3 separate regions of the Homo sapiens genome follow, and regions 1 and 2 are each linked to region 3. Evidence: promoter capture Hi-C in 16 types of primary human blood cells and fetal thymus (Javierre and others, 2016). All regions are on one chromosome and are shown on one strand. The core of a region is centred on a gene start or on the middle of the fragment in contact, and the rest is flanking DNA. Distances in the headings are between cores, read along the strand shown.

Region 1 (3,119 bases), core at 340-2,839, 270 kb before region 3:
GAAATTTCTTCTGTGTCAGCTTCTGTCTGCTTCCCTTTCCAGTTCTCTTTGTTGTCCCCCTCACCCAAACTGTAATTCCACAGAGCTTCTTTTTCATTTTGGAAGATAATGATATTGTTAACCTAACACTCAGCACATATGGCTTTGTATTATAGTTGTTTATGTTCATGCCACATTGCCTTCCTTGGCTGTAGGCTCTTTAAGGGAAGAAATTATATATTATTTACATTTGTATTGATCTTAGTAGCTGGTATGACACTCAACATTTGTTGAGTGTATAAGTAATTCCGTTCTCTCCTCTCACCTATACTTTTCCTCTTTTCCCCTCTTTACTGATGTTTCTCACCTTGGCCTAGAAAAATGTTTACATCTTCTCCATATTAAAAACAAAACTAGGGTTCCTCTTCTACCTAAGATGTAGAAAGCTGGCATGAAAGACAAAATGCAGTGGATAATTAAGGAGGAATGCTTAATTAATAGGAAGAATATTGAGCAATGAAGACAGTCTCAAAGAAGAGCGGGGAGACCTAGGGTTTTATGGGGGCACTTAGACAAGGGAGCCATCTGTATCTTCTGTAAATCTTATGGAAGTCATGCAGAAGGATGGAGATGGGTCTTATCTTGGCATATGCCAGAGCAGGGCAGAACTTTGCAGTTAGCCATTTCCTGAGCCACAAAAAGATAGGGAAATTTCTTAACTGTTGCTGTTTTTAGGCATATGAGGCTCAGGCAGAGTTTACTGTTGTCAGTCCCTTCTTTTTTCGTGAATATCATTCATTACTGAACAACTAAGAGGTGATCGCAAAGCTTTAGAGGGGCAAAGCAGGTATAAGAAATGGCCTCCCAAGGGCTCTTGTTGGTGGTGGTTTTGCAGAGTCAGTTGAGCCATCTGATGAAAGGTGGTGGCAAAGATCAGTTGTTTTAGAGTGCTAGAAATCTGGCATCTTTAAAGAAGCATGACTGAAATGTAAAAGAGAAATATTCATATCAATGGTTGAATTGAAGTACAGAGCCTGAGGGTAACCTGTTTACTGGATTCCAAGTGGTCAATGGAAGAAAACCTTTTGGTTTTGCAGCAGTGCTTCTTGAGTTTCTTGAAGCTCAAGCTAGGATGGTGATGCTCTTGGTGTTGGTCAGTCTTGGTTCTTGCTCATATAGAGACATGCATATACAAGCATTTTACTGGTCTTCCTTAGTAGTCCAGACAGTGGCCTGTGCAGGGAGAATTCAGCCCCTGCATGGTCTGCCATGGTGATGAGTCCTTTGAGGTTTATATCAAGTCTTTGGGCTGTAGGTTATAGGGGGTTCTGCAGATCCTGGACAAAGAGCCAGTGCAAGGGTACCTGGAATCCTGACGTAGAATCTAGATGGTGAGCCTTCATTCAGTTCCTGGTGATGCTGAGTCAGGCAGGAGGTAGGAAAATTAAAAATGTTAGTTTGGATAACCATAGCCAGATAATGATGACATCTGGAAGAATTGAAAATTTGATAAGAATCCACAATTTAGGCAAGGTGACAGCATCCAGTCCAATTTGCAGGTAAGTACTAAAATTGTTTTTTCCATAGGGTGAAAGGAAGTCAGTTAAATCTTTACCATACAAAACAGTTTGCATATCCATCAGTTACCTGTGATTTATAAAAAAATGAACAGCAATGACCAGAGCCAGAATCTGATAACCCAGATGGGTGTGCATAGATTTCCATTGAAACACAAAATTCCTCTCTACAGTCACTTCCATCTTGATAAAAAATAATCTCAAAGAACTGTTATTCTTGGCGCGGAGGCTCACTTCTGTAATCCCAGCACTCTGGGAGGCTGAGGCAAGCGGATCACTTTAGGTCAGGAGTTCGAGACCAGCCTGGCCAACATGGTGAAACCTCATGTCTACTAAAAATACAATACAAAAAAAAAAAAAAATTAGCTGGGCGTGGTGGCATGTGCCTGTAGTCCCAGCTACTCAGGAGGCTGAGGCACGAGAATCGTTTGAACCCAGGAGCTAGAGGTTGCAGTGAGCCAAGATCATGCCACTGCACTCCAGCCTGGGCAACAGAGTGAGACTGTCTCAAAAAAACAAACAAAGAAACAAACAAAAAACTATTATTCTTGATCAACACTTGATCACAAAATAAGGCTGGTCTCATTAGACTTGTCTGATTACTCACATAGGTAGAGTAAGAATGGTAATTTGCCACACAGGTCTTCTTAAGTTTACTTTGTTGAAAGTTTTCATCAGGACTTTCAGACTGAGCTTTTAAAATTCTCTTGAGGCTAGGAAGCCAAGCTAAGAACTTGCCATCATACTTTAAATGCAGTACCTATAAATTTGGACAAATTCCTCTTTTCTTGAGTCTCCAGAATATCCTAAGCTTCCTGGTACTGTCAGGAAGTGACCTTTCTTACTCACCTGTAAGGCTGAAACCATGTACTCCAGTGCCAGTTTTCCCAAGAGCATTTTGTAAACATTGGCTCCAAAAAGTCAACCTTAGTTCTTTAAAGTATCTGGTCATAGCTGATTAAATGAGCATCATTCTCAAACATGACATTCGGGGAGGCACCAGAGTAAAAGAAAAAAACTATCTGTAGATGACAAAAGATTTAAAGGCCTTTGTTGCATAACCAATGTTTCTAATTCTGTCCCGTAAACAAGGAGGACAGATTCTTATTGAACCTGTGCAAATAATTATATTGCAATGAAATTAAGAATACTCCAAATTCTGGAAGGATCAGGCAGTAAGAAAAATACACCATTTGCAAATTGATATGGTTTGGCTCTGTGTCCCCACCTAAATTTCATGTCAAATTGTAATTCCCACATGTCAGCAGAGGGGCCTGATGGGATATGATTGGATCATGAGGGCAGATTTCCCCCTTGCTGTTCTCATGATAGTGAGTGAGTTCTCACAAGGTGTGTTTGTTTGAGAATGTGTGGCACTTCCCCCATCACTCTCTCTCTCTCCTGCCGCCATGGTAAGACATGCTTGCTTCCTCTTGGCCTTCCACCATGATTGTAAGTTTCCTGAGGCCTCCTAGCCATGCGTCCTGTACAGTCTGCCAAACTATGAGTCAATTAAACCTCTTTTCTTCATAAATTACCCAGTCTCAGATAGTTCTTTATAGC
Region 2 (2,949 bases), core at 3-2,502, 290 kb before region 3:
CTTTATCTGTTACACAAATTACATATATGTTATTCCTGTCAGTGGCTCATATTTTTTTTTCTTTCTATTGAAGCATTCATTGAATGTCAGTCAGTCTTTTAACTTTTATTTCTAGATCATACAGCCATTTAAATGTTTCATATAGTAAAATCTTCAAATATTTTCCTTTATAGCTCCAAAGTTTTATGCCTTAAGAAAGCTAGCCCTATCACAAGAATATAAAAGTAATCCTTTTTGTTTTTAAAATTTGAATTGTGGTAAAACATATATAACATACAATGTACCATTTTAGCCATGTTTCAAGCTTACAGTTCAGTAGCATTGAGCACATTCACATTGTGGTACAGCCATCACCACCATCCATCTCCAGAACTTTTCTGTCATCCCATATTGAAACTCTCTCTTTGTGTTTTCTTATAATGCTTTTGCTTGTTTCCTTTAATTCCTTATAGTTCACTTTTGTATGTTAAGTGAGGTAAGGATGAGTCCATTCATCATTCCTCCACTCATCTAAAATCCACTGCTGTCACATTCTAAAGTACTGAACACATATGGGCCTGTTCTGTAGTTTTGAATTTGTCTATCCTACGCTGGCCTTCTGTTATGGGTTGATAGTATGGATCTTGAAGTTAAGGGAGTGTCAATTCTGTTTCTAGTTTGCTAAGATAATCTTCATTCTTTTCCTTTCTCATGATAGTTTTGAATTTTTTCCATTATTCTTTTAGAATCACATGAAATGAATGAGGATAAACATTTCCTTTTTTTTTTTTTTTTTTTTTTTTTTTGAGACAGTCTCACTCTTGTCACCCAGGCTGGAGTGCAGTGGCACGATCTCAGCTCACTGCAACCTCTGCCTGCCAAGTTCAAGCTATTCTCTTGCCTCAGCCTCCTGAGTAGCTGGGACTATAGGCTCATGCCACCACCCTCAGCTAATTTTTCTATTTTTAGTAGAGACAGGGTTTCACCATGTTGTCCAGGCTTGTCTTGAACTCCTGACCTCAAGTGATCCACCCACCTTGGCCTCCCAAAGTGTTGGGATTACAGGCGTGAGCCATCATGTCCGGCCAACGTTTCCTTCTAATCAGTTAAAATGATGAGTTACTTTAATAGGTTTCCTAATATCAAACTGTGTGAATTCTAGATGCAGTGGCTTTTTCAGTGTGTCCTATTCTTTTTATTATACATACAAAGGCAACAAGACCCTATCAAAAGAACGAAATGAAAAAAGAAAGAAGCTAAGCATTTCAAAAGAAAAGCATGTCTATTCTATTTGCTTTTATTTTACTTAGGATTTTGGCGTCTATATTAATCTCCTCAGGCTTTGGCCCATAGTTTTCTTCCCCTCCACCCCCTACTTCTGTGTGTGTGCTTTCCTTTGTCTAGTTATGTAAAAGGGGTAATTCAATCCTTGTAGAATGAGATGGGAAGTGCTTTTCCCCTCTCATACTCTAAAACAGTTTTATAGTACAGAAATGATAGTTCCTTGATGGGTTGATAGAAGTGACCTACAAAGCCATTTGGGCCTGTTTTTAGGGTGTCTTCGTTTGCTGATGCCATGTTGATGGACAACTAGAACACAGATCCTGCCACGTGATCCCTTCCTCCTGTGTTAGGTAATCCGTCTCAGCTTGCCATGGCCTGGGCCAGCCAGTTACCATTGAGAAGAGAGTAGAGGTCATTGAGAATCCCCCTTTTCTGGAGCTCAGTTGAAGCACAGAATAAAGATCAAGGTCTGGCCTTCTAACTGATGATGTTAACATGAGATTAGTTTTCATCTTAATAGAATGGACGTAGGCTGGGCATGGTGGTTCACGCCTGTAATCCCAGCACTTTGAGAGACCTAGGCGGGTGGATCACGAGGTCAAGAGATCGAAACCATCTTGACCAAAATGGTGAAACCCCATCTCTACTAAAAATACAAAAATTAGCTGGATGTGGTGGCGTGCACCTGTAATCCCAGCTACTTGGGAGGCTGAGGCAGGAGTATTGCTTGAACCTGGGAGGCGGAGGTTGCAGTGAGCTGAGATTGTACCATTGCACTCCAGCCTGGGCAACAGAGCCAGACTCTGTCTCAAAAAAATAAAATAAATAAATAAAATAAAGTGGATATGTAATTGCTAGGAGGAGTCAGGTGGTGATTCTTTTCCAACAAGCAAGGGGATGTTATTAGATTAAGGCTTCTTGCTGATTCAGAAGCTTCTAATAGCTCTGTTCAGATTGCCAGACAGAGCACTGGACTATGGGTCAGGTCATCTGTTTTCAGCCAGCTGTGTGATCCTGGGCAAATCACCTATCCTTCTGGGCTTTGGTTTTCTTACCTGGTTTAGAGAGGAAGTTGACTTAATTCAGTGACTGTTGTGGTGGCAGGATCAGAATCTCCTCAGGCTTTGGAAACCGACGTTTTTTAATGCTTAGAAACAAACTACCCATTTTTTTGACATTTATGAGGCAATTGGAAATTTTAACACTGACTGGATAGTTGTTGATATTACGGAATTGTTAACCTTTTTAATGTGTGATAATGGTATTGTTAGGATTTTAAAACAGTCATTTTTTATTTTGGGGTTCCATACTGCAATATTTTTGGATGGAATGAATTTAAAAAGAAAAGTGAACACCAACTAGACTTCTCTAAGATCTGTATAAGCACTTAATTATCTGTTTTGTTTCTGGCACTGATTGGTGTTTACTATGTGTTTCCTTCATGGGAATGGACTATTGTGTACTCATCACAGCTGAGAAGCTGCAGGGAGGAAGAGGACAGACAGAGACTATGTTGTGCCCTGCATCAGGGTCCAAAAAATGGACTCCCTGCCTGTGGTTATAAGTTCTCTCTCCTCTCTGTCCTGCTGGCCATACCAGGACCTTGTCAGCCTGGCAAGCAGCACCTCTAGCTGGAGGCCTCTGGCAGTGGGCCTCACTGTAGCCTTGTAGCAGGCTGTGGGCAAG
Region 3 (2,966 bases), core at 401-2,900:
CACTATCCCATTTAATCACAATGGGAGGAAGGTTTTATTGCCTCAATTTTTTTTTTTTTAAGACAAAGAGTCTCACTCTGTCATCCAGGCTGGAGTGCAGAGTTTGATCTCGGCTCACTGCAACCTCCACCTCCCAGGTTCAAGTGATTCTCCTGCCTCAGCCTCCTGAGTAGCTGGGATTACAGGCACCCACTACCACGCCTGGCTAATTTTTGTATTTTTAGTAGTGACAGGGTTTCACCATGTGGGCCAGGCTGGTCTCAAACTCCTGACCTCAAGTGATCCGCCTGCCTTGGCCTCCCAGAGTGCTGGGATTACAGGCGTGAGCCAGCGTGTCCAGCCAATTGCCTCAATTTTAAGGATGAGGAAAATGGTGCTCACCGAGAGGCCAGGTAGCTAGCTACTTCAAAGTCACACAGCCACTGAGGAGCAGAGCCATGAGGACTCGACTGTCCCTTGGGAAGACGAGTTATTAAAAAAAAAACAAACACCCACCAAAGCAGCAAACTCCATGCCTACAGGGGCTGGGCAAGTAAAAATAAGGAGATGGGCAGGCATGAGAAAACAGGAGCAGTGGGAAGGACTTGCCTATTCTCTGACCTTGGCAGCTGCTGACCAGCAGCAGGTCATGCCATGCAGCAGTGTGGGTGTCATGTGGCTGATTTTCTAGTATCTCAACTGATGGGGGAGAGCCAGAGTTTGCATGAAATTATCCCAATTTTTAAAGAAGGAGCCAACAGTGAGCCAAACACGATACCACTACAGAACAAATCTGGTCTAGGGGACTGCTATTGAGGATGAATTCCTTTGGCTTAACACCCATCCTCCTGTTCATTCATCTTCTCAAAAGCAAACATGCTCTAAGTGAGGAGGGAGGTCACCTTCAGCCATAAGGCGCCATTCTACTGGCGAGAAGTGGTGGGGAATGTGGGACAGAGAAGACTTTGTAGCTGGGGAAGAAATTAAGTCATAGTCACCAAGGATTTGGCCCTGCCTTCACCGGTTTCCCTGGGCGGCAGGGAGGGCCCTACCATAGAATGTTACCGACAAGTGGGAGCAAATGGGGGCCCCGGCCCTGTTCGTTCAGCTGGGTGAAAACGAGGGTCTTGGGGGCACAGGTTTAGGTGGGATTGGTGGGGGATAGTAGCTTTCTTTTTCAATTGTTGAACACAGAAGAGAAACCCAAAGCAAGGCGCCAATCATTAAAACACACAAACACAGACACACGCGCAAGTCACCTTGCTCGCTGGGTACTTTAGTTACCTCAAACGGAAATGGGGTTTTCGGCCCCTCTTTTCCTGCCTACCTCATGGGACTGTTGCCAAAGAGGAAGGAACCGGAAGGAAAGGTCTTGGGACAGGACAGGGGCTAAGCAGCCGTGCATTCGTTATGATGTGAGGGGTGCCGGGGGCTGGAGACTGAGGTCGGGGAGAGCACGGGCCCTGGGTCCTTAGTGCCAGCGGGCGGCCAGAACCAGAGTGCGGGGGTCTAGGGATTCGGGGACCCAGACGCACCAGGCCCACATATCCCGCTCAGAAGGGTGCGGAAAGCCGCGCGCACACGGCAGGGACACGCCCCAGACACGCCCCGCCCCGCACTTCTGGGGCGCGACCCGGAAGCGGAAGGGAACCCGTTTCTTTTCCTTCCCCAGTGCGTCTTTCCTGCGTCGTTCCGGCGCGGCGGGAGCAGAGATCTGCGGCCGTTTGCAGCTTGCGGTAGGGAGGCGTGGTGGTCTGAAGCCTCCGAGCAGCCGCGGCCATGGCGGATGTAACCGCCCGTAGTCTGCAATACGAGTACAAGGCGGTGCGTTTGGTCTTGGGGAAGGATTCCAGGCTCAGGAGTCCAATGGGGAGGGGGAGGCTGAAAAAGGGAGTTTCAGTCTGAAGGCCTACAGGAGAGCCACGAAAACGAAGGGGAAATGGAATCGGGGTGAAGGTGGGGGTTATACGATGACGTGAATAACCTACTGGGGTCTGGGGAGCGCTAAGATCTCTCTAGGAGGAGTTTCTCGAGTACCTTCAACGCTAAGCCCTCCCCCTTCCACACGTCACTCCCAACCCACTCACTACTTTTCACAGGTGTGGGTTATGATGGGCGCTGTTAGGAACAAGAATTGTTTAGCTGATTCGACAGCGCATAAGACTTATTCAGCTGTACGCTTCTGCACAGCGTTATACTATGCAATTCTTAAGGAAAATATATTTTTATTACGATTAGTGATGATAAGCAACTAGTTACTACGATTTTTTCCATCAGCTGGGGTAACTATGATAGTAGGAATTGGCCCTGCTCATGTCAAAGCTTCAATAATGTTTTGATCTTTTCAGAACTCGAATCTTGTGCTCCAAGCTGACCGTTCTCTCATTGACCGGACCCGCCGGGATGAACCCACAGGAGAGGTGCTGTCCCTTGTTGGGAAGCTGGAGGGCACCCGTATGGGAGACAAGGCTCAACGGACCAAACCGCAGATGCAGGAGGAAAGAAGAGCCAAGTGAGTGCCAAGGGGATACTATTTTTTCCTTCAGATCCAAAGTCTCTTCCCTTTAACATTCGAGCAGCATTTTTGCTGGAATGCTTGGTGTAAGATCAGTGGCATTAAAACAATTCAGTGAAGGTAAAAACAGACCAGGAGAGTTTAAAGATTTTTTGGCCTTAACAAGTGCATCTCAAGTGGAAAATAACTTGTTGGTACCTTTTTCTTACATGTGTGTTTCTGGTCCATAGACAGATCTTAATTTTCTTCAGGGTATTTTCAAGACCCTTGCTATTCCTATGTCCCAGTAATTCGTTTTCCTTTTTTCCCATTACTAACTTCCTACCCCTACTTTTTCCATTTACTCTTGTCCACGTTCTACCTATTTTGTTGTAACAAACTAATTTAAGCATCCATAGTATGAAAGACAGGTTTCTTTCTTAGTTTGCATTTTTTTCCTTTATTTTTTTTTTTTAAGATTTCTTGGGGATAT

Evidence for each region. Contacts are between HindIII fragments. The CHiCAGO score rates a contact against its expected background, and 5 or more counts as called.
Region 1: a contact is called between a fragment that was not itself captured here and the fragment with the promoter of SNRNP200 in region 3, in 1 of 17 cell types (total CD4 T cells). The highest score is 5.9, in total CD4 T cells.
Region 2: a fragment that was not itself captured here is called in contact with the fragment with the promoter of SNRNP200 in region 3 in 1 of 17 cell types (total CD8 T cells); the score reaches 7.1 in total CD8 T cells.

What each region holds. Positions count from the first base shown.
Region 1 is chr2:96,569,715-96,572,833 of GRCh38, reverse strand. No RefSeq gene overlaps it. Among named protein-coding and RNA genes, the nearest start is that of ARID5A, 35 kb to the right of the region's middle. The HindIII fragment of the contact is 1,560 bases long and covers 810-2,369 here.
Region 2 is chr2:96,596,745-96,599,693 of GRCh38, reverse strand. All of the region lies in intron 20 of KANSL3 (KAT8 regulatory NSL complex subunit 3), which reads left to right. Among named protein-coding and RNA genes, the nearest start is that of KANSL3, 40 kb to the left of the region's middle. The HindIII fragment of the contact is 1,892 bases long and covers 307-2,198 here.
Region 3 is chr2:96,304,230-96,307,195 of GRCh38, reverse strand. SNRNP200 (small nuclear ribonucleoprotein U5 subunit 200) reads left to right here and starts at 1,650. Exons shown (of 45, transcript NM_014014.5): 1 at 1,650-1,803; 2 at 2,328-2,491. The coding sequence starts at 1,759. RefSeq lists enhancers at 1-569, 1,162-1,241, 1,491-1,785. The HindIII fragment of the contact is 15,934 bases long and covers 1-2,303 here.